2 separate regions of the Homo sapiens genome follow, and region 1 is linked to region 2. The links are contacts of gene promoters, found by promoter capture Hi-C in human tissues and cell types (Jung and others, 2019). All regions are on one chromosome and are shown on one strand. The core of a region is centred on a gene start or on the middle of the fragment in contact, and the rest is flanking DNA. Distances in the headings are between cores, read along the strand shown. Region 1 overlaps CRAMP1 (cramped chromatin regulator 1). Region 2 holds the start of TMEM204 (transmembrane protein 204).

The links. The method cuts DNA at HindIII sites, captures the fragments that hold promoters and counts their contacts. A contact is called where the count stands out against the background at its distance.
Region 1: a fragment that was not itself captured here is called in contact with the fragment with the promoter of TMEM204 in region 2 in 4 of the 25 tissues and cell types used here (dorsolateral prefrontal cortex, lymphoblastoid cells, mesenchymal stem cells and 1 more).

Annotation. Positions count from the first base shown.
Region 1 is chr16:1,633,405-1,637,978 of GRCh38, forward strand. It overlaps CRAMP1 (cramped chromatin regulator 1), which reads left to right. Exons shown (of 21, transcript NM_020825.4): 5 at 4,420-4,503. Among named protein-coding and RNA genes, the nearest start is that of CRAMP1, 23 kb to the left of the region's middle. The HindIII fragment of the contact is 4,859 bases long and covers 1-4,221 here.
Region 2 is chr16:1,531,985-1,536,381 of GRCh38, forward strand. TMEM204 (transmembrane protein 204) reads left to right here and starts at 1,682. Exons shown (of 3, transcript NM_024600.6): 1 at 1,682-2,571. The coding sequence starts at 2,292. All of the region lies in intron 19 of IFT140 (intraflagellar transport 140), which reads right to left. RefSeq lists enhancers at 1,008-1,711, 1,712-2,415. The HindIII fragment of the contact is 11,677 bases long and covers 1-2,293 here.

The DNA of each region.
Region 1 (4,574 bases), core at 542-3,041, 100 kb after region 2:
GGAAACGGCTGTTGGTCTCTGCACATTAGGGGTACCCCTTGATTCGGGTCTGCCGCCGATGCGGTTTTGTTTGTTTGCTTTTGGTATCCACGTGACCATTCATGTAAGATTTTCTGCTGACTTCACCTATTTATAGCACATCAGTTCCGTTTTGTCCTATATTTGATGCCTGTGCTGGTCTTCTCATGTTCAGCTCACTTGTTTATTTGAAATCTCAGCACTGGTCAGATCCCGTCATCCAAGGCTGTTGTGGTTAATGTCAGGTTGTGGTGAGTGGCCTTGTGCCTTCCAGAGTGGCACGCAGCACCGACTTTTCATTGTCGGCCTCTTCCTGTGTCGTCTGTCCTTTGCATCGTTCATTAGTGCCTTTTTGAAAGACAGTCCAGGCTGCGCGCGGTGGCTCATGCCTGTAATCAGCACTTTGGGAGGCAGAGGCGGGCGGATCACGAGGTCAAGAGATCAAGACCATCCTGGCCAACATGGTGAAACCGCATCTCTACTAAAAATACAAAAATTAGCTGGGCATGGTGGTGCACACCTGTACTCCCAGCTACTCGGGAGGCTGAGGCAGGAGAATTGCACCACTGCACTCCAGCTTGGCCACAGAGCAAGACTCCGTCTCAAAAAAAAAAAAAGAAAGAAAGTCAGTCCATGAGAGCAGATCTGCCATCCACTGTGGCTGGTCTTGAAAAGCTCTCTATGGGGGAAGCTGGCCAGCAGCGGAGGGGACTGGGCAGCTGTTTAGTAGATGAGGTATAGAGAGAGGGATGGGATTCCAGGAGCTTCGGTCTAGTGTGCTTTGCTTGAACCATCTGCGGGCAGGGTGGGAAGCGTCTTTGGACCCTCAGGCTCCTGGCGTAGACTTATCTCCTCTTCTGAGGTTCAAATGCACATTCTACTTGCCAACCCAGGCTCTCTCCCATGTCAATTTCAGAAGGCAGTCAAAGCAAACATTTCTTTTCTAATTGTGTCACCTTTCCCTGTTAAACAACCTCCTAATCCTAAACTTGCTGGTGCGAGGAGGCCTCATTCCTCTTTGGCCCTTCTGTCCATCTAGGGTGAAGGGTAAATGCTCCCTCACACCTCTCGGTGGGGGGTCACACCCAACACAGGTCCTTTTCCCTTCTCCGTGTGGGCCCCTGTGCTTCCCTCTCTTCCTGACCTGGCACAGCAGGCTCCTACAGCCTTGGTGTCTCCTGTTCGTGCATCTTTGGTGTGACCCCACATGATGTGCCTTCTTCCTGTTGAGCTCACCGTTCTCCCGTGTTCTCCCGGGTTCTCTGATGGCCCTGACTGTCTCTTCAGCAGGGCTGTCTGCCTCCGTGCCAGCGGGCAGCGGCATTGGGGCACCCGATGCTGACTTGCCCAACAGGAGCATGAGGCTGGAGGCCACTAGGACACTGCGAAGTGACTGGCCCCATGGACTGTCATTGCGCATCAAACAGAGTGGCAACTTTTTCACGTTACATGTATTTTTGGCGTGCTTTGGAGTTTTGTTTTGTTTTGTTTTTTGAGCCAGAGTCTTGCTCTGTTGCCCAGGCTAGAGTGCCATGGCGCACTCTCAGCTCACTGTAACCTCCATCTCCCAGTTTCAAGCGATTCTCATGCCTCAGCCTCCCGAGTAGCTGGGATTACAGGTGTGCACCACCACACCCAGCTAATTTTATATTTTTTAGGAGAGATGAGGTTTCACTATGTTGCCAAGCTGGTCTTGAACTCCTGAGCTCAGGAAATCCACCTGCCTCGGCCTCCCAAAGTGCAAGGATTACAGGCGTGAGCCACCACGCCTGGCCTGTGCTTTGGAGTTTTGAAGAGCACACCGTGTGCACTTTATCATGGGTTTGTCTGACTCATCTTGTGGCGTGAGACACAGAGTGGTGGCAAGCGAGCGTGGAAGGGACTGACTCCGCCCCCAGCTTGGGGGCCTTGCGTGTGTGTTCGTCTTACTAATCTCCCGTGGTTTCCATGCACATCTGCGTTTCCTTGCTGCTGTCCATTGCTCAGTGGAGATTTTGCTTCACGAACTCAAAGTTGGATGAGGTGAGCTTGGTTCCTGTCCCTGAGTGTGTAATAAAACATGAGGTGCCACCTAGGAGGCCGTGGGGCCAGGCGGGGCATCAGGGACACCTCCCGGAAGCCCTGCTTCGTCCCAGGGTCCCACCTCCCCTGGGGTCCCTTGTCTGCAGTGTCTTGCTCTTGGTGCTACTTTCTTGTTTCTGGGTTGTGGGTTTTTTTCTTTTTGCCATTTCAAATAGTGGACTTTAAAATATATATTTTAGAAATGGGGATATTATTCACCCTTTTAAAGCATACAACTTAGTGGTTCTTAATGTACTTACAAGGTTATGCAGCCATTGCCACTCTCTAGTTGCAGAATATGTCCATTGCCCAGGAGGAAACCCTGTGCCCCGGTGCTGGGAGCCCTCAGTTTACTACCTCCTGTCTCTATGGATCGTTCTACTCTGGATGTTTCATAGAAATGGGATCACGTGCTATGTGTCCTTCTGTGCCTGGTTTCCTTCACTCAGCGTCAGGTTTCAGGGTTTGTCTGTGTTGTAGCGTGTGCCAGTCCTTTGTATGGCTGGATTATTTTCCTTTGGGTGGATGGCCACATTTTGCTTGTCTACTGAATAGTGGATCTTAAAGCTTTCCGAGTCATGGGCTCCTTTAAGAAAGTCTGATGAGGCCAGGCGTGGTGGCTCACGCCTGTAATCCCAACATTTTGGGAGGCCGAGGTGGGCGGATCACCTGAGGTCAAGAGTTTGAGACCAGCCTGACTAACGTGGTGAAACCCCGTCTCTACTAAAAATACAAACATTAGCAGGGCGTGGTGGCGCATGCCTGTAATCCCAGCTACTTGGGAGGCTGAGGCAGGAGAATCCCTTGAACCTGGGAGGCGGAGGTTGCAGTGAGCTGAGATCGCGTCACCGCACTCCAGCCTGGGCAACAAGAGCGAAACTCTGTCTCAAAAAAAAAAAAAGAAAGAAAGAAAAAAAGAAAGTCTGATGAGCCCTTAGGTCTTAGGTCTTTCTCTCAGAAGAGCCTTTGAGAGCAGTTGGCCTGTGCTTAGCCGTGTCCGAGACCCATGGTCCAGAATCCTCCTCATATCTTGAAAGCCTGCTTCTCCATTTACCAGTCTTAGGGCCTTGAGAACAGGTCTCTGAGGAGAGAACTAGAGAGGACAATTGTGAGAGTAGAGGGGACAAATGGCCTTCACCCCTGCTCTGTGAAGTGACCCAAAGGGGCCTGGACTGTGTTGTCACTTGGTTTCCCTAGCAGGATTAGGTCTGGTGTAATACAGTAACAAAATGCAAAATAGCAGTGGCCCAAGCGCCTCAGAATTCACTGTCTCGTGGCAGAGACGCCTAGAGGCTGGCGCCCAGGGCAGGCAGGACCCAGGTGCCTCCCATTCTTGTGCTTGGCTGTCCTTGGTGACAGCTCCAGGCAGTGGCTCTTGAGGAAAGAGGGGTGGGAAAAGGGGAACCCTCCTGCCCAAATCAGGCTCTTTAAGGAGGCTTCTGGAAGTCTCCACTACTTCCAGTGGTGTAGCCATGACCAGCTGTCCATGTCTCAGCCTGTTTGCCTCCCAAATAAAACAGGGGCCTTGGCTGGGCACGGTGGCTCATGCCTGTAATCCCAGCACTTTGGGAGGTTGAGACAGGTAGATCATTTGAGGTCAGGAGTTCGAGACCAGCCTGGCCCACATGGTGAAACCCTGTCTCTACTAAAAATACAAAAATTAGCCAGGCCATAATGGTGTGCACCTGTAATCTCAGCTACTTGGGAGGCTGAGGCAGGAGAATCTCTTGAGCCTGGGAGGCAGAGGTTGCGGTGAGCCGAGATCATGCCACTGCACTCCAGTCTGGGCGAGAGAGTGAGACCCTGTCTCCAAGAAAAGAAAAAAAAAAAAAACAGGGCCTCTTACTGAGGAAGGAGAATGGGCCTCAGGCAGGGGTGAGCACCTGTCCTTGGCTCCTCCTCCCGCCTGGGCCCGGGCTATGCAGATCCACTGTCCTGGGAGGGCACAGGTGAGGCAGGAAGGCAGCATCCAGGTTTCAGGGCTGCTGGCCTCACCTGTGTGCAGAGATGGATGACAGGTTTAGTGCTGGCCACATCTGCCACCTTCACGAGTACCAGCTGTTCTGAGTGTTGTGTTTTCTCCTCCAGGGGACATTTCCTCTGCCTATTGGGGTAAATTTCTAACGCCCCACTTTGGTTTAACTTTTTATTTTGAAAATCGCAGACACAGCACCGTGTTCTATACACTCTGCCCAGTGTCCCCTGTGGTTGACAGCTTGCATGACAAAGGTACAGGGAGGAGATCCAAGAAACCACGTGAGCCTGGTGTGGCTCTCACACCCAAGCCAGGCAGCGCCTCCTGTTCCCCTCTCTAAAGCCGCCTTCTCTTCTGTTTCTCAGTGTTCTCTCGAGGCCTGAAGAAGTCATCCCAGGAACTGTATGGCCTGATCTGCTATGGCGAGCTGCGCAAGAAGATTGGGGGCTGTGAGTACGCTGACTGTGGGGTTGCCCACGGCTCCTCCTGTCCTTTGTCACCTTTGGGCTTTAGTGCTCAG
Region 2 (4,397 bases), core at 432-2,931:
AGGAGGAAATAAATTCTTCCCCCATGGAAACTTTTGGGAGACTTCCCTTTCAAGGCCCCCTTCTGCACCGTGTGCTTAGGAACACTGAGTGTTTGAGACACTGCACCCCCGTCCACCTCCGAGGAGCAGGGCACAGGCAGGAAGGGCTGGGGACATCCCCCCAGGGCCTTCCGAGCCACCCGGGAGAGTGGGGGCCGGCAGCACCACTGTGCCCCGCACGCCCCGTCAGGTTCCGGGGGCTGAGAACAGAAATAGAAACAGCAGCTTTTCCCTGGGCACAAGCCAAGGAAGAGGGGAAAGGAGAAACCTGACGGACACGTCTGCGACAAATCCCCGGGGAAAATCCCCCCCAGGCACGTCCCTCAGGAAGCCAGTGGAGAAACGCTTCTCAGGACCCAGCACGCACCACGGGCTGGTGAGGACGGAGCTGCTGCCTTTCTGGAACAGACACAGGGCGTGTGTGGGGAACCTTGCTTCACCTGTGGATATACAGAGCCACATGCCAACGTGTGAATGGAGACTGGTCCCAGGAAGTGGCAGCTCTCGGGACCGCCCTGAGCCAGGGCCCAAGCACGGGCAGTGCAAGGACAGGAAACGGTCAAAGCTCTGCTGTTACCACAGGCTGGGAACAGGACTCTCTGTCCCAGCACTGTCTTGGGCGTGTGCCCATGAACAGTTTGCACGGATGTGGGACACCTGCATTCACGAAGCTTTGGAGCCTGGGTAGGCTGGGAATCCCATGCTGGGTTTCGGGTCTCTGGAGATGGGACAGAGTAGGAGACCCTCTCGTGGTGTCTGCCCAGCTGGGCAGAATAATTCTGAGCAGAATAGACGAAGATGCTTCTGAGCTCCCTGGCAGCATAAGCTCTGCCCGAGAGCCTGACCACTCACAAGGTGACCTGCCTAGTCCTGTCCCCAGCTGTGGGGGGTGACCGTTCCCATCAATAGCAGAGGTGGCCCAGGCCCCACGTGACATTCGCTCTGTCCCAGGCCCCGCTGAGAGCCCCACCCAGCACATCCAGAATCTTACCCTTCTTGCCACCTAAGAATGACCTGGCCTCGAGGTCCTCCAAGTACAGGTCCCTGGCCCCGAGGTCCTCCAAGTACAGGTCCCTGGCCCCAAGGCCCTCCAAGTACAGGTCCCTGGCCCCGAGGTCCTCCAAGTACAGGTCCCTGGCCCTGCAGGTCTGGGTGAACTTGCTCCCTCCAGGCACACGGGTCTCTCCCCTTCCCAGCAATCCTGTGATATCTGCCCCCCTTTTGAGGGCAGCATTCCCGTGGCGGGGGCAGGCCTGGAACACACGGGCGGGGGGAGGCTTGTGGTTCCTATGGTCCTGGGGGTACCTATGGTCCTGGGGGCAACTGGATGGCTGGGGGGTGTGAAGTCCCCAGGGCAGGCAATAGTCGCTCAGTACCAGCCTCCAGGCCCCGGGGGCCACCAGGCTTAAAAGCAACAGGCGAGACGAGGGATCTGTCCCGCACCCGGCATCCCTGGCCTCTCCTCTGGGACAGGAAGATGGGGAGGGGCGGCAGGAGGTGGGCCTGGAGCAGGGCCTCAGAAGTCTCCTGGCCTTTCCCATCAGGAAGCACATCCTGTTGGTGTCTGGCTGCCGCGGCAGGGCCGCTATTTGTTGCGGTTGGCTACGCCTTCCAGCTCACCAAAAACAGTCTCAAAAACAACCATTTCCTCTCTGCTGAGAGCCAGGGAAGGCGAGCTCTGCGCACACGGGCGTCCCTGCAGCAGCCACTCTGCTTTCCAGGACCGGCCAACTGCCCTGGAGGCATCCACACAGGGGCCCAGGCAGCACAGAGGAGCTGTGAACCCGCTCCACACCGGCCACCCTGCCCGGAGCCTGGCACTCACAGCAGGCCGGTGCTAAGGAGTGTGGCGCGGGCTCGACTCCCACTGCTGCCGGCCTCCCGAGTGACTCTGTTTTCCACTGCTGCAGGCGAGAAGAGGCACGCGCGGCACAGGCCGGCCTCCGCTTCCCGGGAAGACGGCGCACTCCTGGCCCTGGGTTCTTGCTGCTGCCCACCCTCTGCTCCCTGGGATGGGCCCCGAGGCGAGCAGCTTCAGCACAGGCCTGGCCCTGCTCCAGGTGCAGGAAGGAGGATAAGGCCGGGCCGAGAGGCGGCACACCTGGACCATCCCATGGGCCTCCGCCCGCGCCGCCCCGAGGATGAGTGGTGATGTCCTCTAGCCACCCCTAGCAGCGTCGGCTCTCCCTGGACGTGCGGCCGCGGACTGGGACTTGGCTTTCTCCGGATAAGCGGCGGCACCGGCGTCAGCGATGACCGTGCAGAGACTCGTGGCCGCGGCCGTGCTGGTGGCCCTGGTCTCACTCATCCTCAACAACGTGGCGGCCTTCACCTCCAACTGGGTGTGCCAGACGCTGGAGGATGGGCGCAGGCGCAGCGTGGGGCTGTGGAGGTCCTGCTGGCTGGTGGACAGGACCCGGGGAGGGCCGAGCCCTGGGGCCAGAGCCGGCCAGGTGGACGCACATGACTGTGAGGCGCTGGGCTGGGGCTCCGAGGCAGCCGGCTTCCAGGAGTCCCGAGGCACCGTCAAACGTAAGTCCAATTGTTTTCCTGATGCCTTCAGCGTGGCCGAGGCTCGAGGGCACATGGGAGATGTTAGGCGCGGACCTGGTGAGCGGGTGGGGAGGCCTGGCCCCTGCTCTGCCCTGAGCGTGGCCTCTGGGCAGGCAGGAGGGGGCACTGTGTCTCCCAGGGAACCAGGCCCCAAGGCCCCCTCTCCCTGGTGAGTGGTGGCCCCACACACTCCTCCTGCTCAGCACAGAATCTGCCTCCAGCTCTTTTACACAGGAATTCATCTCAGGCATTTGGGGGGCCTCTCTGCCGTTACACATAGTTAAGAGATGGGTACATTAATCAAATCAAGGAAAGGCATTTTTCCTTGGTTGAAAATAATTATTACGGCTGGGCGCAGTGGTTCACGTCTGTAATCCTAGCGCTTTGGGAGGCTGAGGCGGGAGGACTGCTTGAGGCCAAGAGTTCAAGACGAACCTAGCCTACATAGCGAGAGACCCTGTCTCTGAACATAAAAAAAAAATGAAAATGCTCTTTCTTTACTCATGAGTAAAATAAACAAGAAGTTTAAAAATACACGGGTGAGTTCTGGCTTTGTTCTCACGGTTGTTGGGGTCTTTGAGGCAGAGAGCAGCAGCAGGATCCCCAGGGATGAGCTTCAGATGGGACGCTGGAAAGGAGACAGGGAGGCCAGGACGCTCGGAAGGGGACAGGGATGCTCAGTGGTTGCAGAGGAGAGGAAGGGGCTCAGAATGATGCCACCGCACCGTGGGGTTTGAGTGGCAGGTGTGAGGCTGCATAAATAGGAAGGCGCTTACAGCCCATGGGGTCATCTCAACAGTCACGGCACAGGGACACAAGGTCTCCCAAAGGCCGACTCTCTGAAACTGTCAGCAAGGTTTTGACTCGCAGACACCCCAAGTCTCTGCTGCAGAGCCTCACAGACTCGGGGTTGGACGCTCCTTCTGCTCTGAAGATAATGCTGGTCTCTGAGGCAGTGCCTCTGCTCCAGGCTTCCGAGGGAGTCCCGGAGTACTGGGGTAACACACATCACGTGTGCCTCAACCACACAGCTCCATCCCCAACCTGCCGCGCTCAGAACCCTCAGCGGGGAATGTCATCCCCACTTCACAGGCAAAGAAACTGAGGCTTTGCAGAAGGCATGTGGCTTGGACAAGGTCCCACGAGGGAATTCAACCCCCTTGTCCACTCAAAGGCCCTCGGCTGCACCGCACAGCCTGGACTGCGCACTTCCTCTCGCATCCTTCACCAGCAGGGACCAACAGCCGTCTTTTAAAAAGATCAAAGCCTATGAATAACTTCAAAGCTTCCACCGGCTCTCAGAACTCGGTGTCTTATGGGAAGCCCGAGGCTTGGGTCTCCGCGTGACTCCGGCCAGGCGCCCTTCTTCCAGACTCTGCCTGCTCTGCTGAAGAAGGAGCCGCAGCCCCGTTACTGTGCTGAACCTCTCGCGGGGGCAGCGGCTTTAGGCCCCTGGAGGTGGGGCCGGGCGCTCATGTGCTTTGGGACCATCACTGGCGTCCAGCCCACAGAGCACCCCCGGGGGAGGGAGTTCCCAGCCGGCCCTTGGCCGCAGCTCTGCACCTCCAGGCCTCCTAACTGCTGCCACCAACACCCACAGGTGGCCCAGGCAGCCCAATCTCAGGGCAGCTGGAAGCCTTGGCGCCCCTCCCTGTTGCTACCTCTTGCGTTCCTCCAGTCACAGGGCCGCGTGTAGCCTCTGGCACGACCTATGCATCCGTCCCAGGCGCCCGGCTGTCCACTTGCTTAGGCCTGCTCACCTCAGGCCAGCAGGACACACGAGGCCCCTCACAGAGCCCCCTGGA